Linked DNA regions of Homo sapiens: all the other regions are linked to region 7. The links are contacts of gene promoters, found by promoter capture Hi-C in blood cells and fetal thymus (Javierre and others, 2016). All regions are on one chromosome and are shown on one strand. The core of a region is centred on a gene start or on the middle of the fragment in contact, and the rest is flanking DNA. Distances in the headings are between cores, read along the strand shown.

Region 1 (3,124 bases), core at 298-2,797, 390 kb before region 7:
ACAATCTCTGCTCACTGCAACCTCCACCTCCCTGGGTTCAAGTGATTCTTCTGCTTCAGCCTCCTGAGTGGCTAGGTCTACAGGTGCCCACCACGCCCAGCTAATTTTTGTATTTTTAGTAGAGACGAGGTTTCACCATGCTCGCCAGGCTGGTCTTGAACTCCTGACCTCAGGTGATCCGCCTACCTCGGCCTCCCAAAGTGCTGGGCTTACAGGCTTGAGCCACCGTGCCCGGCCATTGAAGTGTTTTAATGGGGAGGGCTATGAGATGGCATGATCAGGTTTGTGACTCCAAAAGATCATTTGAATCTATTTCTTTTTTTTCTTTTCTTTTCTTTTTTTTTTTTTTTTTTTTTTTGAGACAGAGCCTTGCTTTGTCACCCAGGCTGGAGTGTACTGGTGCAATCTTGGTTCACTGCAACCTCCGCCTCCTGGGTTCAAGCAATTCTCCTACCTCAGCCTCTCGAGTAGCTGGGATTACGGGCACGCGCCACCATGCCCAGCTAATTTGCTGATTTTTGGGTATTTTTAGTAAAGATGGGGTTTCTCCATGTTGCCCAGGCTGGTCTTGATCTCCTGACCTCAGGATCAGATCAAGTGATCTGCCTGTCCTGGCCTCCCAAAGTGCTGGGATTACAGCTATGAGCCACCACGCCCCGCCTTTGACTCTATTTCTGAGAATAATCAGGAGAGGAGCAAAAGATATGGATTGGAGAGATATTTAGAAGTAAAATTGACAGGACTTGGTTATTGATTGACTTTGGGATCCAAGAAAGGGAGAAGTCAGGATTGACCCCTAGGTTTCTGGAGTGGATTTTACTGAGATAATTATCTTTTTTTTTTGGACCTACATTACATTTCAGATTACTTTCAGATCTCTACCTAGAAACATCAAGAAGGCAATGAAATAGACAAGATTATGAATACACTAGGTGTGAATTAGACCATATAGAGGGCCCTATATGAAGTGAGAACAAAATGCCTAAGAAAGAGCTCCACAAATTTTAATGACCAGATAGGGGAGGAGCCTGCAGAGAAGACCAAGAAAGAGCAACCAGAATTAGGAGTAGGCGGCTCTAGGCACACTGCCTAGGAGTCAGCCCTGCTCCCTGGGGAGCCACTCTGGAAATTAATAATAATAATAAGCAGAATTAGGAATAAAACCAGGATATTGTAGTGTTATAGCAGCCAAGGAAAGAGAGGACAGTCAGATGTTGCAGAGAGGTCATTAAGATGAAGACTGAAAAATGTCTGCTGGATTTAACAAAATAGAAGTTTGCAGAGTGATAGGTAGGGAAAACCAGAGGAAGTGGGTTGAAAAATGAGTAAGAGGAGGCTGGGCATGGTGGCTCACACCTGTAATCCCAGCACTTTGGGAGGCCAAGGCAGGTGAATCACCTGAGATCAGGAGTTTGAGACCAGCCTGGCCAACATGATGAAACTCCGTCTCTACTAAAAATACAAAAATTAGCTGGCTGTGGTGGTGCGTGCCTGTAATCCCAGCTACCTGGGAGGCTGAGGCAGGAGAATTGCTGAGCCCAGGAGGCGGAGGTTGCAGTGAGCCAAGATTGCACCACTGCACTCCAGCCTGAGTGACAGATCGAGACTCTGTCTCAAAAAAAAAAAAAAAAAGTAGGAAGAGAGGATATAAAGATGATAAGTATGGACAGCTCTTGAGAAATGTTACTGTGAAGGGGAGGAGAGATAAGTAGAGGGTGTGTGTGTGTGTGTGTGTGTGCATGTGTAGGAGTGATTTGAATGTTTAAAAGGATTCAGTTGAGAAAAAGAAATGGTATGCAGGACTGAGAAAAATTGTAAGAGATGGAATTTAGAAACATTTAGGTACAGTAGACTTAGAGAAGAAAAATAGTTGAAAGGTATGAGAAGAGGATATGCAAATGTAGACAGGTTTTTGTTTTGGGTTTTTTCTTTGTTTGTTTGTTTGTTTGTTTGATTCCTTGTTTTTGAGACAGGGTCTCTCTATGTTGACCAGGCCAGAGTGCAGTGGCGCCATCATGGCTCACTGCAACCTCGACCTCTTGGGCTCAAGCGATCATCCCATCTCAGCCTCCTGAGTAGCTGGAACTACAGGCTCGAGCCACCACACCCGGCTAATTTTTAAATTTTTTGTAGAGACGAGGTCTCACTGTGTTGCCCAGGCTGGTCTCAAACTTCTGGGCTCAAGCAGTCCTCCTGCCTCAGCCTCCCAAAGTGCTGGGATTACAGGCGTAAGCCGCTGCCCCTGGCCTACATAGGTTTTTATGTTTGATGGCTGAAGGAAGGAACAAATGGTAGGTGGAAACAAACACATCTGTGAATGAAGAAATTTAAATCAAGACAAATAACAGCACTGGTCCTCAATGAGGACAAAGTCCTTAACATAACTTATATATAATTTTATATATAAAATATTTATAAGATAAAAGGGTCTAAACTCTTTTATATAAATATGAAATAAGATTACATATGTTTGTGTATATATATATATAAATAATACAAAGACCTGTTGATATAAGGTCCTTAAATAATTTAGAGAAGAGGTACTTCTAAATTTCTAGATAATACCAAAATGTTTTAGTACTACTCTGGAGATCAAGGTGAACTCTCCAGGTTGATTGGTGAAGAGGCCAAGTGTATTTCATTTTAGACATTTTAGACATGTTTGAGAAAAAGACATTTGGAGAAAAAATTTCACACCATATTTATAAGATGAAAGAGTCTAACTATTAGCAATGTCTCAGTAAAGGGACCTGAGAGTTGTATATTCTTTGCCAGGAATGTCCAACACTTTGGACACTTTGGCAAAGAGACCAACTAAGTACATCCTCAGGAAGAAGCTGAGGCAGAAAATATCAAACAGCTTCTGACTGGTTTAAAATATATACGTATATTTAAATCCCAAGGTGTCTTCACACATTAAACAGTCATCCCTCAGTAACCATGGGGGATTGGTTCTAGGATCTCCCAAGGATACCACAATTCAAAGATGCTCAAGTCCCTGATATAAAATGCTATAGTATTTGCATATAACCTATGCACATCCTCTGTATGCTTTAAATCATCTCTAGATTACTTATAATACCTAACATAATGTAAATGCTACATAAGTAGTTGTTATATTTTA
Region 2 (3,296 bases), core at 354-2,853, 360 kb before region 7:
CAGTTACGTCACCCAGACCACAGTCCTAGGACTTTCTCTTTTTTTAAGAGACAGAGTCTCGCTATGATGCCCAGGCTGGCTGGCTGGCCTCAAACTCCTGGGCTCAGACAATCCTCCCACTTTGACCCCCTGAGTATCTAGAGTTACAGGTGTGCACCACCACCCCAACCTGGCTTGAAATGTCCTTTCTTGCCTCCTTGTCTCTGATTCACGGGGAAAGGATGGTTCCTGCTGGTTTATATTCAAGATTGGCTAGGCGCGGTGGCTCATGCCTGTAATCCTAGCACTTTGGGAGGCCTAGGTGGGTGGATCACGAGGTCAGCAGATTGAGACCATCCTGGCTGACACGGTGAAACCCCGTGTCTACTAAAACTACAAAAAATTAGCCGGGCTTGGTGGCGGGCACCCGTAGTCCCAGCTACTCGGGATGCTGAGGCAGGAGAATGGCGTGAACCCGGGAGGCGGAGCTGGCAGTGAGCCGAGATCGCGCCACTGCACTCTAGCCTGGGTGACAAAGCGAGACTCCATCTCAAAAAAAAAAAAAAAAAAAAAAGACGAAGATAGAGGTGCTGGAATGAGTGCCCCCTCATACACACTGCTTTGGATCTGTCTCACCATGTCCTGTGTGTCCGTGGCTCTCATCAACTTAGTCTTTCCTACCCCTCAGCTGTCTCAGATCTTTATCATCTGGACAAAATCTTTGCCTGAGTCTTCAAGAGAGATCATGCTTTTCCTTTCCTTTTTACTTCATGCCTACTGCCTCCATTTCATCATGATTTATTCTTGTTTTAACTCAGTGCAAGCTGCCTTCATTATAGTAACCCTTTCTCAGAGAGCTCCAGTGTTCAGTATCCCTCCTCCAGGACTTCCCTGGCATGTTTTACTTTGTTGGTCATCAATTATTTTTTGAAGTGTCCCTTCTTTTTGCTTCTGTAATATCTTATTCCACATCTTTGGACTTTCGTAGTCACTGCTTATGTTTTTCCTCCACTGATTTTCCTTCTTCCACTGAAGACTGTGAGGATTCTTCAGAGCTCAGACTTAAGCTTTCTTTTTTCTTTTCTTTTTTTTTTTTTTTTAAGACATGGGATCTCACTCTGTCGCTCAGGCTGGAGTGCAGTAGCATTATCACGGTTCACTGCTGCCTCAACCTCCCAGGCTCGAGCAATCTTCCTAACTCAGCCTCCCAAGTAGCTGGGACTACAGGTATGCGCCACCATGCCAGGCTAATTTTTGTACTTTTTGTAGTGACGGAGTCCCACCATGTTGCCCAGGCTGGTCTCCAACTCCTGGGCTCAAGTATCCACCTGCCTCAGCCTCCCAAAGTGCTGGAATTACAGGCATTAGCCACTGCACCAGGCCTTAAGCTTTCTTTATCTCTTCATCTGCTCAAGTTTCACCCATTCCAAAAGTCCCAACTCTCATATCCAGCCAGATAACTCTGAGACCTCCATCCCTTGTTCTGACACTCCAGCCCCACCGCTCACTCTCCTAGCCTTCTGACAAGCTCCCCCTGCTTCCCTGCAGCCACCTTAAGTCCAGCAGGCTGGAGGACATGCTTCCCTCCAAAGCTCTTCATTCACCCTCTTACCCAGGCCTACCAAGCCAGGTTCCTGGCTACTTCCTCCTATTATACTTTCCTTTGAACTGTTTCAGATACAGCCCTTCCTTTCCATTGCCATTGCTAAAACCCTAATCGAGGCTGTCATCACCACCACTTGGATTCATTCATGTATTCATCCAGAAAAGTTTTATTGAACACCAACTATGCACCTGGCACTGGAGCTATATCTGTGAACACAACAGAGGAAAAAAAATCCTTGCCACTGAGAAGCTTATAGTCTAGTGGAAAAGGCAGATGAAAAACTAGGAAATATGTTTTCTAGAAAATATTTTCTGAAAATAACTAGAAAATATAATATATATTAGAAATGTATATTAAATAATAATAAATGATAGAATGCTAATAAGTGCTAACCAGAAAAAAAAGAGCAAGGAAGTGAAAGGGTGGGTGAGTTGTTATTCATCTAGAGTGATTACAGCAGCCTCATGAGTAAAGACCTGAAAGAAGGAGGGAGCCATTTTGGATACCTAAGCATTTCAAGTTGGGGACACAGTGGAAGGATATCCTGGTGTATCTGAAGAGACTATGCAGGCCCTTGCACACCACTCTGAGACTTTGACTTTCATTCTGATTGAAAAGGGAAGCTCTCAACAGGTTTTAAACGTAAAAAAGGAACAACCTAATTTTTCAACTTTATTTTTAATAGCTTTCTTGAAGTATAATGGACATATAAACTGCAAATATTTGAAGTGTACAATTTGATAAGTTTTGACATATGTATATACCCATGATACCATCATCACCATAAAAATAATAAACATATCCACATCTCAAAAATTGTCCTTTGTCCTTTGTGTTTCATGTTTTATCAGAATCACTAGCTCTGAGAAACAGCACTCAACTGTGATGTTGAGAACAGGCGAAGGGGGACTCAAGGAAAACAGTCAAGAGGCCACTACAGAGGACAGATGATAGTGGCTCGGACCAGGGAAGTAGGTAAACAGGGGCTGTAACGAATAATTGATTAATCACTAATCTCATAACTTCTTGCTGCATATTCACTTCAATTCACTCTGAAGAGAAATGAACAAAAATGTCGCTTTCACAGGATAACCTCCCTTCAAAAAAGTCCGCTAGCTCCCAATTGCCCTCAGGCTAAAAATCGCAACTCTTTATGGCCCTGCTTTTTCTATTACCACTCTCAAATCTACATCTTGACCTTCCTGTCCTCTGGTCATTCCCCTCCACGTCCTTTCTATTTCACCACACTTCCACCCCCTCCCCCAAGTCTAAATTGTGCCCAAAGTCCCACTTTCTCCAGAAAGCCTTTTTTGAGGTCTCCATTGGAATCTCTCCCTTCTCGTATCTCCAGTTGCATTTGATGTTAATACCTCATAGCAAATTTATCCCTTTTTAAGTACCCAGAGCCGGCGGTGTAGAGCTCTCGAGCGAGCACCCCGCGTAGTCCCCAAGTGCGGGACTGGGCCTATGCTACTACAGGCGCTCGCTGCCTAAGCCTGTCTGTGTGTGGCAGTGTCCTAGTCGTCCTCCCCTCCTCCTTCGGCATCTGCTCTGCATTAGTCTGTCCCAGGCCTCCGCAGGCGCCGATGATTAAATCATCATCATTAACCAGGGCCTGCCCCCCCCATCCCCGGCAGCAGGGGGGAGAATGGGGGAATAAGATCACTACCAAGTCCCTGGGGGTCTCTCACTCCCCATCCCCCGGCACCCT
Region 3 (3,559 bases), core at 16-2,515, 430 kb after region 7:
AGCCTTGGTGACAGAGTGAGACCCTGTTTCAAAAATAAAAATAAAATTCTGGGCGAAAGTAATTTAGATAGGAACTGTTAAATTACCTTTCACAATGAACCAACTTCTACTCCCACAAGAATATATAAGGGACTCTATTTCCCTACACTCTTGCCATCAAATTTGAATTTTTGATAATCTGGTGAAAAAAGGCAGTTGGATACAGTTTTAATCTTCATTTGAGAGAGGTTGCGTATCTTACATATTTAAGAGCCATTTGTATTTCAATGGAAAAGTTTGAATTTAAGTAATTGTTTTGCATGTATGCTCTTATTTAATTTGTGCTTGTTGCAAAGTGCAGACTTTGAGCACAAGAAACTACTGGTAGACGATGAAATAGAGCAAATCACATGTTTTCCTACCTGGAAAAAGAAAAGAAACCTTGGTATCATTACTGCAACCAATGTCAGTTACCCACAGGATAAGCAAGCCTACAAGTCTCCAGGAGCCCTTTTTAATCCAATTCAAACTGTTCAGATGTAGTTGGGGGAAGCCTGAGACAATGTGAACATGCTGCCATGTATCTGTAATTGTTGTAGTTGGATAGGACCTGAGCTCTTGCAAGATGATAAGACAAAAAAATCCTGGCTGTATTCGTGGGGCTTGGAACAACTCTGATGGGGATGTTAATTTTTCATATGATAGAGTCAATAGATACTGTTTCGTGTCTGAGAGTGATAGATTGAGAAAGTGGTTGAAGCATATCAGTTAATTAGATTACATGGCTACTAAGTTATCAGAAAAACAGCTCAAAGAAGCATACATTATGGCTGGGCGCGGTGGCTCACACCTGTAATCCCAGCACTTTGGGAGGCTGAGGCAGGCAGATCATGAGGTCAGGAGTTCGAGACCAGCCTGACCAACATGGTGAAACCCCATCTCTACTAAAAATACAAAAATTAGCCAGGCATGGTGGCGGGCACCTGTAATCCCAGCTGCTCAGGAGGCTGAGGCAAGAGAATCGCTTGAACCTGGGAGGTGGAGGTTGCAGTGAGTCAAGATCGTGCCACTGCACTCCAGCCTGGGTGACAGAGCGAGACTCAGTCTCCAAAAAAAAAAAAAAAAAAAGAAAAGAAAAAAAGAAACATATATTACATAGTAATAAAAAAAGATTGGAAATGGCAATAAATCTGTAAAAATCATAAGATATCCTGGATAGCCAAAACAATTTTGAAAGAGAACAACAATGTTGGAGGACTCACACTACAACAATGTTGGAGGACTCACACTTCCTGATTCTAAAACATATTACTGGCTGGGCACAGCATCTTTCAGACGTGTAATCTCAGGACTTCTGGAGACCCAGGCTGGAGGATCACTTGAGCCCAGGAGTTTGATACCAGCCTGGGTAACATAGTGAGATCCCCATCTCCACCAAAAAAAAAAAAAACAAAAAAAACAAAAATAAAAAACAAAAACAGGATTAAAATATGAACCAGTAATTTCGCTCCTAGGTATACATTGAAAGAATTGATAATAGGTATTCAAATAACTGCTTGTATGTGAATGTTCACAGCAGCATCATTCACAATAACCAAAAGATAGAAACAACCTTAATGTCCATCAATGAATGAATGGATAAACAAAGTGCGGTATAAACATACATGGAATTTTGAGCCCTAAAAAGGAATGAAATACTGATGCATGATGCAACACGAATGAATTCTGAAAACATTAACTGAAAGAAGCCACACATAAAAGGTCAGATATTGTACAATTCCATTTATATGAAACATCCACGATAAATAAATCCATAGAGACAGAAAGCAGATTAGGTTGCCAGGGATTGGGGAGAGAGGGAAATAAGGGGGAACCACTTAATAAACAAGGAATTTCCTTTTGCAGTGATAAAAATGATTCGGAACCAGAAAGGGGTGGTCGTTGCACAACATTGTGAATGTACTAAATGCCACTGAATTGTGCACATTAATTGGATTAATTGAAATAATAAAACCGGACGCGGGTCTTACCTTTAGGAGCTCACAATCACACTTGAGTCCCTGAGTCCCTTTAGACTTCCAAGATTCAGTTTCACTGTCTGAAAGCAGGGCCAAGTGCCTAGAATGTGCAAAGACCTTCAGAGTTTATCTTTTATGCAGAGAATCCCCCACAATTCCTCTTTTCAGAGGTAACTGCTACCAACATTTGGTGGAACCACTCAGACTTTTCTCTCTGCATGCTTGTTTGTGGATATCATTTTTCAATACCATTTTTCCAAAAATAAATCCAAACATATTGTTTTATAATCTTTTCTTGCTTGTTGCTATAGTTGGGCAATGTTTTTCATGTCAGTAAACCCTCATCAGCATTGGTCATGGCTGTGAGGTACTGTGCTACAGAAATAGAGCAGGATTTATTCAGCCAGTCCCCTCTTGTTGCACTTTAGGTTGCTTCTGTGTCAATAAACTTTACAGTGATAAACATCCTTATACAAACATCTTTGCACATTTGACCAGTTACTTTCTTGAGCTCTAACCCTAGAAGTTGAATTTGGATCAAGTCTTTTCAAAGGATTTTGAGGTCGAGCAGGGTGGCTCACTCCTGTAATCTCAGTGTGTGGGAAGACTGCTTAAGCCCAAGGATTAGGGACCAGCCTGGTCAATATAGCAAGACCCCGTCTCTAAAAAAAACCTTTTTTTTAATTAGCCAGTTGTGGTGGTGGGTGCCTGTAGTCCCAGCTGCTTGGGAGGACAAGGGCAGAGGATCACTTGAACCTGTAAGTTTGAGGTTACAGTGAGTTATGACCTTGCCACTGCACTCTGGCCTGAGCAATGGGGTGAGACTCTATTTTGATTTAAAAAAAGGATTTTGACATGCTGTGTAATGATTCTCCAGCAAGGATCTCCCATTTCAGTATTCCATCAAAAGTGTGTGTGTCTGCACATTTCTTTGTGCTTGTCCTACATTAGCTCATACCATTCTTTTAATTCTTTACCATAATGATAGGTAAAACCTAGATAGTATTTTGATTTTTATTTGATTTCTAGTGAGTTTTTGTATATTCTTTTTTGTACACTTTTAAAATATATTCATAAACCATATTTGCTTCTTCTTTAAAAATTCTCCATTCTTATCCAGAGTCCATTCTATCCATTTGGCATTTTTTTCCTATTAATTATTAGGAAGGAAACATGAACTTTTCTGTTTTGAGGAAAGCTTCCATTTGAGGAACACTCAAAATGAAAGCTTGAAAAAGAACCATCAAAGAGGGAAAGACAGACCAGGAGAGAAGGGGGTATGAAATGAAGAGCCATGTGTTACAGCAGTTGGGTGGCTGCTGGACCCAGAAACCTCCTCAGTTGACATTATTTGCCTGACTCTTAGTTGCTCTGGTAGGAGCCAGTCTCTTGCACCTCTCTGCTCTGATCTTATTTCCCTTACATCTAAGCTCTTGGACTGACTCCAGTGCCTTAGTCCATTCGGGCTGCTGTAACACAATTACCATAAACTGGTCAACACTTTACATTTAGCTTGTAAACAGAAATTTATTTCTCACAGCTCTGGAGGCTGGGAATCCAAG
Region 4 (3,178 bases), core at 32-2,531, 390 kb after region 7:
GGTAACAGCCCTCAAACCCTACGAGCTTCTGTAGGCTATCTGCATAATGTGCCCATTGTAGGAAAAGATTGGTTTCAGCAGACACCGTAAGCCATATAGTACTGTGGTGCTTAGCAAGAAGGCTTTACTTATCTGTGGATGTTTTCTTCAAAAGCAGCTTCAGGTTTTTAGTTGGTTCACATGTCCTTTCAGGTCTATTAACCTGATAGGTCGGGCTGAGGCGGGGGCAATTTTTATCCAGGTATAATGTACCCACGGTTTAACTCCTGCCCAATTGATGAATGCGTGGTCAGAAGGACCTCATAGGGTCTTACCCTTTGAGGGGCTAGTTGGTGATTCAGTCCAGTCTCCCTCCAGGTTTTAAGTAGAACTTGGTCTCTAGCCTAGAAAGGGTGAGGTGGCCTGTCCATGGGGAAGAAGCAAACTCATGAACAGAAGTCGGTATTTCATTTAGCAATTTTAAATAATGTCTAATAGCTCCTTCCCTTTCTAAGATTTTATAGCCTGATCTAGCCCCAATGTGGCTAGGAAGGGTCTCTCATACATAATTTCTAAAGGGCTCAACTAGAGCCTGTTTCAGGGAATGACCCAAATCCTCAGCAGGAGAGAAGGTAGTACTTTGTCCCAAGTTAGATTAGTTTCCTGGCACACTTTAGCAGCAGTTTTTTTTTTTTGTTTTTTTGTTTTTTTTGTTTTTGAGACAGTCTCACTCTGTCGCCCAGGCTGGAGTGGAGTGGCATGATCACGGCTCACTGCAATCTCTACCTCCCGGCTTCAAGCAATTCGTGTGCCTCAGCCTCCCAAGCAGCTGGGACTAAGGGCATGCGCCTCCACGTCCAGCTAATTTTTTTGTATTTTTAGTAGAGATGGGGTTTGCCATGTTGGCCAGGCTGGTCTCAAACTCCTGGGCTCAAATAATCCACCTGCCTTGGCCTCCCAAAGTGCTGGGATTACAGGTATAAGCCACCACACCTGGCCTAATTGTTCTTTAAATAGTTTGATTCAGTTTTTTAGTCTTTCCGGTGGGCTGTGGCTGTGCTGCATGAAGTTTCCATTCAATGTCTAGGACTTGAGACACTTCCTGTACTACCTGAGAGATGAACACCGCACCATGGTCACTCTGAATCGTCAAAGGGAGTTCATACTGGGGAATTATCTCTTTAGTATAGTGTGGGCCACTTCAGCTCCCTTTCTGTTCGGATAGGGTATGCCTCTACCCATCCTGTAAATGTGTCTACAAAAAACAAAAAGATGTTTTTTGTACAAAAAGATGCCCTGTAGCCTCCAGGCACCCGTGGCATTGTGGTGAAATTAACTTGCCAGTCCTTGCATGGAGAGTCTCCTCAATGTTGTACCCTTGAACAGGGGTGGGGTCAGTTTTAGGGCAGTTTGGGCACAAAGCATGCATTGATAGATCACATTTTGAATGACCCCATTGCATGTCGGGGTCAATCAAGAACTCACATGCCATTGAAGGGTTGCATCTTTTCTGTAATGGATGCTTTGATGAAACTAGCTCACTATATCTTTAAGGAGGGCACTGGGAACCAATACGATACCTTCCAGATTACATTTCCAGCCTGGATGGGCCAGGGCTGGGATGTGAATCCCCATTCCTTGGCTCACTTTAAATCTCCTTTGGTATAGCAAGGTTGGAACTTGGTCAGATCATTGTGAGGTATTAGTGGGGCTAAGAAAGCCTCAGAGTCCAATGTTTTTGTGGCTTGCTTGGCTGCCAGGTCGGCAAGCTAATTTCCTTTGACTATTCGGGAGTCTCCTTTTTGATGGCTGGGACAGTGGATGATAGCCACTATTAGAGGGGGCATTTACTGATTTTTTTTTTTTTTTTTTTTTTTTTTTTTTTTTTTTTAGATAGAGTCTCACTCTGTTGCTCAGGCTAGGGTGCAGTGGCACAATCTCGGCTCACTGCAACTTCTGCCTCCCGGGTTCAAGTGATTCTCCTGCCTCAGCCTCCCAAGTAGCTGGGACTACAGGCATGTGTCACCGTGCCTGGCTAATTTTTATATTTTTTAGTAGAGACGAGGTTTCACCATGTTGGCCAGGCTGGTCTTGAACTCCTGACCTTAGGTGATTCACCCGCCTCAGCCTCCCAAAGTGCTGGGATTATAGGCATGAGCCACCATGCCTGGCCTTTTACAGATTCTAATAAGGCCAAAATATCAGAAGTATATTTGATTTCTTTATTTTTGCTAGTCAAAAGACCTCTCTCTACATAGCTCTGTGGGCATGTGCCACCAAGAAATCATATTGGGAGTCTATGTAAATATTCATAATTTTTTTTCTTACCCAATTGGAGGGCATGCATAAGGGCACCTTGGCCCACTGAGCTGAGGTGCCTAGCAATAAGGCTTTGGCTTCCTTAATTCCTTGTAAGGTAATGACCTCAAATTCAGCATGATGATGTCCATGGTCCATGAAGCTGCTTGCATCTGTGAACAGTCCTAGTTTGGAGCACAGCAGGGGCTGATCTGCCAGGTCTGGTTGCCTTGGAAAGACCTGCTCATTAATTGGAAGGCAATTTTGTATGGGCCCTGGCTCCTTCTCTGGAGGTATTAAGGTAGCAGAGTTAAGAACCGAGAACACCTTTAACTTCACCTCTGGATTGTCAAGGAGGGTGGATGGCTTGGTATTTTCCCAACCTCTCAGAGGTCAGCCAGTATCCACCTTTTTGATCTAAGAGACAGGAGATGTGATGCAGTGTGTGGACAGTGATGAGCTGAGCTAGAGTTAGCTTTTCAGCCTCCTAGAAGAGGTTGCAAGTTGCAGCCACTGCTCGGAGGCAGGGGGACCAACCCTCACCACCTGGTCAAACTGTTCAGAGAAATAGGCAATCAGTCTTCAGTCAGTTCCCAAGCTTTGAGTTAGGACACCCAAGCCCATGGCTTGTTTTTTGTGCACAACTAAATTAGAGGGCTTTCTTAAATCTGGAAGGCCCAGCAAAGAGGCAGTCTTTAACTTTTCTTTGACTTTATTTTATTTACTTATTTATTTTTTTTGACATGGAGTTTTGTTCTTGTCACTTAGGCTGGAGTGCAGTGACACGATCTCAGCTCACTGCAACCTTTGCCTCCTGGATTCTCCAGCCTCAACCTCCTGAGCAGCTGGGATTACAGGCACCCACCACGATGCCCAGCTAATTTTTGTATTTTTTAGTAGA
Region 5 (3,189 bases), core at 648-3,147, 410 kb after region 7:
GCGATTCTTCTGCCTCAGCCTCCTGAGTAGCTGGGATTACAGGCATGCGCCACCATGCCTGGCTAATTTTTTTGGCATTTTTAGTAGAGACGGGGTTTCTCCATGTTGGTCAGGCTGGTCTCGAACTCCCAACCTCAGGTGATCTGCTCGCCTCGGCCTCCCAGAGTGCTGAGATTACAGGCATGAGCCACTGCACCCAGCCTACTTTATTCTTTAAAATTATTTTCTTCCTTAATATTTATGTCTAGGCCTTCCTAAAATATAAATAAAATGATGAGATCAGGAAGTTAAAAAGACTAAGATAGAGTAAGACTTCATTAATACCGTAAGCAACCTCTGGTTTAAAAAATTCCTGACATTCTGCTCCTACTTGTCTGCTGGGGAAGCAGCCCTTCAACCATGCACCTGAGCCTGCCTCATCTGAACAAACAGCAACCAGCTGGGCCCCTTGGCGTTTCCCTGGGGATGACAACAGAACAACTCAGAAGGGTTAGGAAGACAACATCTCATGAGGATGCCAAATGGGCTTTGGCGATGGATTTTTCTAGTTTAACACTTTTATCAAGTTACTTTCAAAGTTTTTGAATATTTATTAAGAAATGAGTTCTGATGTTAACTTTTAAATGAAATCTTTTGGTCTTTTCATTTTGTGTGCAGTAGAATCCTGCTTATCTGTGAAATGCAGTTAACACATCAGCTGGACCTATTTCCCGAATGCAGGGTAACCCTTCTGTTATTTAAAGATGTAAAAAATGCGGGAGACTTGAGAAGAAAGGCCATGGAAGGCACCATCGATGGATCACTGATAAATCCTACAGTGGTAAATATAAATTTTAAGAATGAATGAGCCTGCTGGGTGCGGTGGCTCACGCCTGTAATGCCAGCACTTTAGGAGGCCGAGGCGGGTGGATCATCTGAGGTCAGGAGTTGAAGACCAGCCTGGCCAACATGGTGAAACCCTGTCTCAACTAAAAATACAAAAATTAGCTGGGCGTGGTGGCGGGCGCCTATAATCCCAGCTACTCGGGAGGCTGAGGCAGGAAAATCATTTGAACCCTGGAGGCAGAGGTTGCAGTGAGCCAAGATTGCGCCATTGCACTCCAGCCTGGGCGACGAGCAAAACTCTGTCTGGAAAAAAAAAATGGCCAGGCATGGTAGCTCACGCCTGTAATCCCAGCCCTTTGGGAGGCCGAGGCAGGCAGATCATGAGGTCAGGAGTTTGAGACCAGCCTGGCCAATATGGTGAAACCCTGTCTCTACTAAAAATACAAAAATTAGCTGAGCATGGTGGTGGGCACCTGTACTCAGGAGACTGAGGCAGGAGAATCGCTTGAGCCTGGGAGGCAGAGGTTGCAGTGAGCCGAGATTGTGCCACTGCACTCCAGCCTGGGCAACAGACCAAGAATCCGCCTCAAAAAAAAAAAAAAAAAAAAAGAATGAATGAGCCATACAGGGCATTTAAGTATACATTAATATTTGTGATGTTATAGGGTAGCCTAAAAATCTGTCACGGTTAGGGAAAAAATTCTTGTCCAAGTCAGATGCAGCCAACTTTGACTATAACAGTGAATAGAGGCAGAAGTGCCAGGTCCTGCCCTAGGAAATAGGAAAGGTTGTGGTCTGGGTCTAATATGGGAAATGCCTGGATCTCCAGCTTCTCATCTTTAAAATGGGGGTTCCTAACAAGACAGTCTGTAGAGGAGGAATAGTGTAGTGGTTAAGAGTACACACAGAGGCCAAGGTGGGTGGATTGCTTGAGGCCCGGAGTTTGAGACCAGCCTGGCCTACATAGTGAAACCGTGTCTCTACTAAAAATACAAAAAGTAGCTGGGTGTGGTGGTGTGTGCTGGTAGTCCCAGCTACTCGGGAGGCTGAGGCACAAGAATCATTTGAACCTGGGAGGCGGAGGTTACAGTGAATTGAGATTGAGCCACTGCATTCCAGCCTGGGCAATGGAGCGAGAGACTCTGTCTGTCTCCAAAAAAAAAAAAAAACAAAAAAACAGGGCACACGCAGTGCGATCATGTTACCGGGAATTAATCCCAGACCTACTACTTAGGCCTTTGAACAAGACATAACCAACCTTTATATAGTGCTTACTGCATTCCTAGCATTGTTCCAAGTGCTTTACGTATACTAACTTGCTTAATCTTCACAACAGCCTATGGAGTGAATACTGTTTCATCGGTCTCTAACAAATAAAATGCTAATGAACTTGCATAAGTTTCCTAGGTGATAGGTGACAGAGATGGGATTCAAACCCAGACATTCTTTGCCTCAATTTCCTCATCAATTACATACTACTACTACTGCTACTACTACTAATAATAGTGTCAATTTCATAGGGTAGTTTTGAGGATTAAAGAAAATATTACAAGTAAAATGTTTGCAATATGATCATGCCCATAATATTAGCCCTCAATTAATGTTATTTAAAAAAATTTTACTATTTGCATAAGTTCCTTGCAGCTTTAAAATTCTGTGATTTCCTGACTACCCAGGCCCTTGGGATAATAGTTGTTTTTTGTTTTTTTTTTTTTTGAGACAGTTTCACTCTTGTTGCCCAGGCTGGAGTGCAATGGCGCGATCTTGGCTCACGGCAACCTCTGCCTCCCGGGTTCAAGCAATTGTCCTGCCTCAGCCTCCTGAGTTGCTGGGATTACAGGTGCGTGCCACCACGCCTGACTAATTTTTGTATTTTTAGTAGAGAGGGTTTCGCCGTGTTGGCCAGGCTGGTCTTGAACCCTGACGTCAGGTGATCTACCCACCTTGGCCTCCCAAAGTGCTAGGATTACAGGTGTGAGCCACCGTGCCCAGCCGGGATAATAGTTTTGAAAATACAGACCGTAAGAATTGTGATGAAGTAAAACAGCTTGACACTGGAGTTAACCATGAGTTACCATGTGTTTTCAGGCACTGCAGATTCTCCATGTGTAATTAATTCTTTTTCCTTGCTTTGGTAGATTGTTGATCCATTTCAGATACTTGTGGCAGCAAACAAAGCAGTTCACCTCTACAAACTGGGAAAAATGAAGACAAGAACTCTATCTACTGAAATTATTTTCAACCTTTCCCCAAATAACAATGTAATGTGCACTTTCCTATTTCTGTTGACCGTGTCATAATAACATATGTGTTCCTCAGTGTTGGGTTGGAGGCTAAATTCCTGCAAGCCAGTGGTTAGTAATA
Region 6 (3,310 bases), core at 784-3,283, 370 kb after region 7:
GGTTGCTTGAGCTCAGGAGTTTGAGATCAGCCTGGGCTACATGGCAAGACGGCAAGACCCTATCTCTTTTTTTTTTTTTTTTTTTTTTTTAAATTTTTTTTTTGAGATGGAGTCACTCTGTCACCCAGGCTGGAGTGCAGTGGTGTGATCTCGGCTCACTGCAAGCTCTGCCTCCCGGGTTCACGCCATTCTCCTGCCTCAGCCTCCCGGTAGCTGGGACTACAGGCGCCTGCCACCACCCCTGGCTAATTTTTTGTATTTTTAGTAGAGACGGGGTTTCACAGTGTTAGCCAGGATGGTCTCGATCTCCTGACCTTGTGATCCTCCCGCCTTGGCCTCCCAAAGTGCTGGGATTACAGGTGTGAACCACTGCGCCCAGCTGACCCTATCTCTTTAAAAAAAAAAAAAAAAGGCCAGGTGTGGTGGTTCATGCCTGTAGTCCCAGCTACTTGTGAGGTTGAGGTGGGAGTATTGCTTGAGCCCAGGAGGTGGAGGCTGCAGTGAGCCATGTTTGTGTCACTGCACTCCAGCCTGGATGACGGATGACAGAGCAACACCCTGTTTCAAAAAAAAAAAAAAAAAAAGAAAAGAAATATTTATAAGCACTAAATATGATAAGCACTCCACCTGGAGCTGGAGATACAGTGGTGAATAAAATCTGGGAGATTACAGTCTGATTAGGAGACCAACATGAAACAAATACAGAAATACATATATAGAAGTGGGCTTATTTTTTTCTTTCTGACCACTCTGGAAGAAAGGATTGTTGTAATATACCTTCTATGTTCCAGGAGAATGGAAACTTTCCTTTGAATCTCGTTGTATGTTAGCATCACAGGACTTGAATAAATGCCTAATGTAGTACAGGATTTTAAGCACATATTTGCTCTTATTTCATTCTCTGTGACAGAGTTTTGAAAAGAAACTTGCTCCAGAAGAATGCTTTTCCCCTTTGGATCTTTTTAACAAAATCCGAGAACAAAATGAAGAACTTGGACTGATTATTGATTTAACATATACTCAACGCTATTATAAACCAGAGGTAAGTGGAACCCTTCAATGAAAAGAACTTTCTTCCTTCTGATCCTAAAATAATTTATAGTAATTCAGTAATCATCTTGTGCTAATGTGAAGCTTGGCCTTCTTTGATGGGTAGTAAGTTTAAAAGAGAACCAAGTGATTTCTCTAATTACATGTTTTTAATTGCTGTCTTAAATGGAATATTATTCAGCCATAAAAAAGAATAGATTTAATACGTGCTACAATATGGATGAACCTTAAAAACATGCTTAGTGAAATAAACCAGACACAGAAGGACAAATATATGATTCCACTTGTATGAAGTACCTAGAATAGACAAATTCACAGAGACAGAAAGCAGACTAAAGGATCTATGAGGTGGGGAGAAAAGGGAATTATGGTTTAGTGGTCAGAGTCTTTTTGTCGGGGATGATGAAAAAGTTTTGGGTATAGACAGTGGTGATGGTTACACAATACTGTGAATGTAATGCCACTGAACTATACACTTGTGGATGGTTAAAATGATTTTGACTTAGCCTCTTCTGTCTTTTATCTGTATCTACTTTTCTCCCACCCCAAGAATATCGGTTCTCAATAGTGCCTGGAATTCCCTCTATCTCACAATTCAAATCCAAGTTCTTCTGACTCTATTCTCTACTCTTCTACTTAAATCATAGCTGCTTTATGAAGGCACTGGCCCTTGAATTATAAAATATTAAATGGAACTGTTTATATAATTTATAGTTAAATATGCATTCATTCACATGGAATTTGCTTTCAGTTTTGTATACCTAGTGACTATCTATTATGTAGTTTTATTGAAAATCAAGTGATACTTCCTGGTTGAAGCAGTGTTGGAAAAAATGGCTCTTTTATCAGAATTGTGTATACTGATATTGGCATATTAAGTTTGTTATAATCTCTTGGCTTATATTCTGGGTCCCCTAATTACTCTTTAATTATTTCTCTACAAGTGAAATAATACACATCTTTTATGGTTTTGCTTTATAGGATTTGCCAGAAACTGTTCCTTACTTAAAAATTTTTACAGTTGGACATCAAGTGCCTGATGATGAGACTATTTTTAAATTCAAACACGCTGTTAATGGGTTTTTGAAAGAAAATAAAGATAATGGTGAGTTTTTGTTCTTACCTGAACTGTGGTGTGCATTATGAATGGGGTTGGGGATTTTTGGTATTTTTTTATAGTTCCAACCTCAGACCTGTTGTATTTAATGATGCTAAGGTGATGAAAATGTCAGATGGTGCTAATAGGGTAAGATGTTTTTCCTTTTGTTGATCACAAATAATTTAACTTTGGAATGTTAAATTAGTTTTAGTGCAAAATATGAACTGAACTGGCTCATCTTTCTTTTTTAATTTGAATGAGAAATATATAAAATTAAAATGTTATTTTTGTCTTCTATATTGGTTAAGAAGTGAGAAGTAGAAGAAAAGATTAAAAAACTCTGAGTCTTAGAGTTATGTGAAAGAGACAAGAAAGGGCAAAGATTAAGAATGGGACGGACCCCTAGAAGCAAAACAAGAAAGAGTGCACCAGTGGAATTGCCCCTTTGTCATATGTATTTAAGACACATGTATACATATGTAACAAACCTGCACGTTGTGCACATGTACCCTAAAACTTAAAGTATAATTAAAAAAAAGATATTTCTGCTGTTTTTCCGCTTTGAGTACAGATGGGGAAGGATACCACCACCTCTTATTCTTCACATGGGAGAACTTAAGCCAAAGGCTGGTGCTTTCTTGTTCCTGCTTTAAGATTTACCTTACTCTTTTGAAAATAGAACTTAACAGCTTCTTTATCTTAAGGATCCAGTTGCCTTTTTCTGGCATCTCTCTGCCAGAAAGAACATGATATTTGTCATATTTTAAGACTGAAGAAGCTTTTATCTTTGGAAAGCCACTGACACCCACAGGACAGAGGCTTCATTTGCCTTCTTTCCAAATTTAGCTTGAGGAGTGTACACTTTGTTACATAAATCTGACAGTAAATACTCCTTTTTAAAAAATGTGATGGAGTAGTGGAGAAAGAATAGAGACAGAGGTGGGAAGATAGGGAATGGAAGGTGAGAGATAGAGACTGGATCAGTGGGTTTGAAGATAAAATTTCAAATTGTAACCTAGTCGCTCACTTAATGTGGACACTAGCTTTTAATTATGTTAAACCTTGTTCACAGATCTTCCCCTGTACTTTAACTTTAAAACTTGAGAGGTTTGGCTTTCCCATTTGTATAAGCTGTTGTCACAGAAATACTACCTTTTAAGA
Region 7 (3,422 bases), core at 295-2,794:
AGCACCATGCAATATACCTCTGTAACAAGCCTGCATATATACCCCCGATTCTAAAATAGAAGTTGCAAAAGGAAGTCCCTCTACCAATTCTCATTGGTCTGGCTCAGACCATGGGGCCGACCCTAAACCAGTCTCTGATTAGCCAGACTTGGGTCCTGTTTCCATTCCTAAAGCTGGGGATAGGTGCGCCTCATCTAAACCATGCTGTCTGAATAGCAAGGGAATGGTTCACCATTACTACCCTGCTTGAGAAAAAATTTTTTTGACAGTTTAAATTGCATCATTGACAGCAATGAAGAAAACTTAGCAAATCATCTCTAAACATTTTAAAAGAATGAAGCAGAAAATGTAAGACAGGCTAGTAATTGATCCAAAGGAGAAATTCTGAAGGCCAGAACATAGGAGTCAGTTAATACTGTAATAAATAAATTAGACAATATCCATATATAACAACTATAGGTCCAATCCATCCAAGTGCAACGCTGAAGGGACGTATTGATTGCATAGGCCAGAATGTTGGCAAAAAGCTGGTAAATCCTGCAGGGTGCCACCAGACCGCGTGCTGCAAACAAATAACAGCTAGAGAGAGGAGAGGCTTGGTTGAATTTCGGCCTTGACTGGTCTGAAGACTCCAGAGGCGGGACGAATTTGCGGACAGTTCTACCCCATCCCACATGGCGTCAGCTTCCCTTCCATTCTCATGACTCCATGGTCCATGGCTCCAACCTGGGCCTCTGTTAGGCTGTGTCCTGTGGCACCTTAAACTCAGGCAAATTAAGAACTGTTCGTGGACTCTGCTCAGCCCCCACCTAACCCTCCATCCAAGTCATTGTCCAAGCCAGAAACTGGAGTCATCTCAGATACCTTCCCACTCACACCTCCACATGCAGTCGCTCGATTCCATTCACCTCCCAAGTGTCTCAGTTCATTCTTCCATCCCTCCCGCCACTGGTTTAGTTAGGCCCCTCCATTCTCACCTGGACCATCGCGGTAGCCTCGGAGCTTCTGACTGTGTCTCTGGTTGCAGCCCCTACACGCTCTCTTCCTTACAGGAGCGGAGCGATCTTTCTCAAGCGCGAATCAAATCCTTCCACGAGTCCCCGCACCTGGAGCGAAGGCCAAACTCCTCAGCTTAGAAGCTAGACTGCCAGAGTAGGGAGTGGGAATGGAAAAGTACATCAGGAGCACGAGGGGTATTCGGATGAGGGAAGGCCAGTATAGGGCGCCGAGACCTTGGAGTGTTTCTGAGCTGAGGAGGAATGAGACTTTCACGCGGGCAAGGGGACCCTATCCATGAAACAGGCCCTGGGGAGACTGAAGGAGAGCGGCGCGAGCGAAGGCAGAGGGCGGGGCCCCGAGGTCGGCAGGCGCTGCAGTGTCGGGGGTGGCGAGTCAGCCAGGGCCAGGGGATGGCGGGGTGGGGCCGGAGCCAGGCGACCGGAGGCCTCCGGGGCGGGGCCGGGAGGCTGACGGCCTCCGGGCGGCAGGGGGCGGCCTCTCCCACGGCGGCGGCTCTCGGTCCCCCGCTCCGCGTCTTTCGGGCATACAGTGACCTCGGGCGGCGGGTCACGTCGGCCGGGCATGGCTGCATGGAGCCCGGCCGCGGCAGCGCCTCTCCTCCGCGGGATCCGCGGGGTGAGCGTGGGCAGGGTCGGGGCTGCTCTCCCCGGGACGGGAGCTGCGGAGGGACCGCGGGGCCGGCGGCTGTCGGGGCTTGAGGACTGGCTCCCGGAGGGCGCGCGCGGCACTGGCAATGGGGGGCTCCTCTTCCTTTCTCTCATTCATTCTTTCATTCATTCATTCACTCAGCGACAACGGCATTCGAAATTTCAAGCTCTGGCGCGCTCTAGGGGAGCTCCCGAGCTGGGTGGAGGTTGGAGGTCAGGCGGACAGACACATGAACAGTCATAATACTGCGGGCACAGGAAAAAAAAAGGATTGGTTTACCGAGCAGAAGACAGGAGTCATAGCCCAGAGTCAAGGCGTGGGTGCGAGGGACTGCAGCGGGGCCGGGGCCTTGGGAAGGTCGACTGGGCCTCTGACCTTGATCCTCCTCCAAATCCCACACTACCGGAGCAGAACCCAAGCAGGGGGCACTTCCCACGCGCTCTCCTAATCTCTCCCCCTTTCTGAACCATCCTTTGCTTCAGCTCATACCATTCTTTCTCTTAACTTTCATTTTCCTTCTCCCCTGGTTCTGAACCTGCCTGCCCTGTGCATGAAGAGAAGTTCTTCCACTGCGGTGACTTTCAGCGTGGACAGTGATCATCTGGGGATGTCAGTTGATTGTTCCACTAAAGGCCGCTGCCCACAGATCCGCTAAGATGAAAGGCTTCTCCCAAGGATTCTGCAACGCTCACCTCTCTCACCCCTTAGTAGCTGCCGATTCTGTCTGCCATCTGGTTACTCTCTGCCTTTACCCTCAAGATTCTGCCCCCAGAAGCAGCTCCACCCCACCCTCACTCCTGGCAATCCTGTCCAGCCTCTCAACATCGAGTTTCTGTCCCTCCACACAGCAGGCAGACAATCACACTCTGGACCTTTCTCCTGTCTTGCATTTCTGTCCCTAATTGACTAGTTCTTCCCCTGCTCATTCATTCATCCAGCACCAAGTGCCTCTGAGGGCCTGCCCTGGGGTCAGCTCTGGGATGCTGCCGGACTCATTCCTGGCCTATAAGACCAGTGGTGAGAGAGCCAGTGCACAGCTCATTTTAAAGGAGGTGCTCTGAGATTCTGTGACACAGGACCCTGCTCTGAGCTATCAGGAAGGACTGAGGGGTAGAGGGGTGGGACCTTCAGCACCAGCACCCATGAACGGCCCTAGTGTCCTCCAACCTGTCATCCACGTCTAGTCAGGGACCAGTGCCCGGTGCTTCCATCATTGTAATGCCTCTTACTTGGGCATCTCTCCTGACTCGCTCCAGAAGGCACTGTTTCCTGCAGGTTACTTTGGTCCCATGAGCCTGGGTTCTATCACCTGGAGTCCCATCTCCTGTCCCATACAGTCCACAATCTTTAGCCTGGCATTCAAGGCCTGCCACACTCCATTCCCAGTCTGCCTTTTCAGCATGCACTCAGCCCAGCCAAGTGACTGCCGACCTGCTTTTCTGCTCCTTCACTACTAACTGTTGAGACGTGTTCCATCAGAAACATGGGCTCCCCTGGCCGGGCGTGGTGGCTCATGCCTGTAATCCTAGAATTTTGGGAGGTTGAGGTGGGTGGATCACCTGAGGTCAGGGGTTTGAGACCAGCCTGGCCAACATGGTGAAACCTCATCTCTACTAAAAATACAAAAATTTGCCGAGCGTGGTGGTGGGTGCCTGGAATCCCAGCTACTCAGGAGGCTGGGGCAGGAGAATCGCTTGAACCCGGGAGGTGGAAGTTGCAGTGAGCTGAGATTGTGCCACTGCACTCCAGCCTGG

What was found. The method cuts DNA at HindIII sites, captures the fragments that hold promoters and counts their contacts. A CHiCAGO score of 5 or more calls a contact.
Region 1: a fragment that was not itself captured here is called in contact with the fragment with the promoter of BOLA3 in region 7 in 1 of 17 cell types (naive CD8 T cells); the score reaches 5.2 in naive CD8 T cells.
Region 2: a fragment that was not itself captured here is called in contact with the fragment with the promoter of BOLA3 in region 7 in 1 of 17 cell types (total CD8 T cells); the score reaches 5.3 in total CD8 T cells.
Region 3: a contact is called between a fragment that was not itself captured here and the fragment with the promoter of BOLA3 in region 7, in 3 of 17 cell types (M2 macrophages, M1 macrophages and erythroblasts). The highest score is 6.4, in M2 macrophages.
Region 4: a fragment that was not itself captured here is called in contact with the fragment with the promoter of BOLA3 in region 7 in 14 of 17 cell types (M2 macrophages, activated CD4 T cells, M1 macrophages and 11 more); the score reaches 10.2 in M2 macrophages.
Region 5: a contact is called between a fragment that was not itself captured here and the fragment with the promoter of BOLA3 in region 7, in 6 of 17 cell types (erythroblasts, naive CD8 T cells, activated CD4 T cells and 3 more). The highest score is 8.2, in erythroblasts.
Region 6: a contact is called between a fragment that was not itself captured here and the fragment with the promoter of BOLA3 in region 7, in 17 of 17 cell types (naive CD8 T cells, erythroblasts, M2 macrophages and 14 more). The highest score is 18.1, in naive CD8 T cells.

Annotation. Positions count from the first base shown.
Region 1 is chr2:74,541,135-74,544,258 of GRCh38, reverse strand. All of the region lies in intron 4 of LOXL3 (lysyl oxidase like 3), which reads left to right. Among named protein-coding and RNA genes, the nearest start is that of LOXL3, 11 kb to the left of the region's middle. The HindIII fragment of the contact is 5,114 bases long and covers 1-3,124 here.
Region 2 is chr2:74,508,181-74,511,476 of GRCh38, reverse strand. No RefSeq gene overlaps it. Among named protein-coding and RNA genes, the nearest start is that of PCGF1, 2.1 kb to the right of the region's middle. RefSeq lists an enhancer at 2,973-3,032. The HindIII fragment of the contact is 467 bases long and covers 1,370-1,836 here.
Region 3 is chr2:73,712,021-73,715,579 of GRCh38, reverse strand. All of the region lies in intron 1 of LOC124907848 (a long non-coding RNA gene), which reads left to right. Among named protein-coding and RNA genes, the nearest start is that of TPRKB, 24 kb to the left of the region's middle. The HindIII fragment of the contact is 3,865 bases long and covers 1-3,197 here.
Region 4 is chr2:73,755,905-73,759,082 of GRCh38, reverse strand. No RefSeq gene overlaps it. Among named protein-coding and RNA genes, the nearest start is that of TPRKB, 20 kb to the right of the region's middle. The HindIII fragment of the contact is 3,192 bases long and covers 1-2,877 here.
Region 5 is chr2:73,732,060-73,735,248 of GRCh38, reverse strand. It overlaps TPRKB (TP53RK binding protein), which reads left to right. Exons shown (of 5, transcript NM_016058.5): 2 at 658-820; 3 at 2,964-3,086. The coding sequence starts at 680. Among named protein-coding and RNA genes, the nearest start is that of TPRKB, 3.7 kb to the left of the region's middle. The HindIII fragment of the contact is 4,504 bases long and covers 1-3,189 here.
Region 6 is chr2:73,772,645-73,775,954 of GRCh38, reverse strand. It overlaps DUSP11 (dual specificity phosphatase 11), which reads left to right. Exons shown (of 9, transcript NM_003584.3): 3 at 911-1,042; 4 at 2,032-2,155. Among named protein-coding and RNA genes, the nearest start is that of DUSP11, 5.8 kb to the left of the region's middle. The HindIII fragment of the contact is 1,793 bases long and covers 1,137-2,929 here.
Region 7 is chr2:74,146,034-74,149,455 of GRCh38, reverse strand. It overlaps BOLA3 (bolA family member 3), which reads left to right and starts at 1,544. Exons shown (of 4, transcript NM_212552.3): 1 at 1,544-1,635. The coding sequence starts at 1,582. It overlaps BOLA3-DT (BOLA3 divergent transcript), which reads right to left and starts at 1,475. Exons shown (of 3, transcript NR_045636.1): 1 at 1,233-1,475; 2 at 978-1,106; 3 at 1-758. RefSeq lists an enhancer at 1,131-1,790 and a silencer at 1,324-1,803. The HindIII fragment of the contact is 11,442 bases long and covers 1-3,422 here.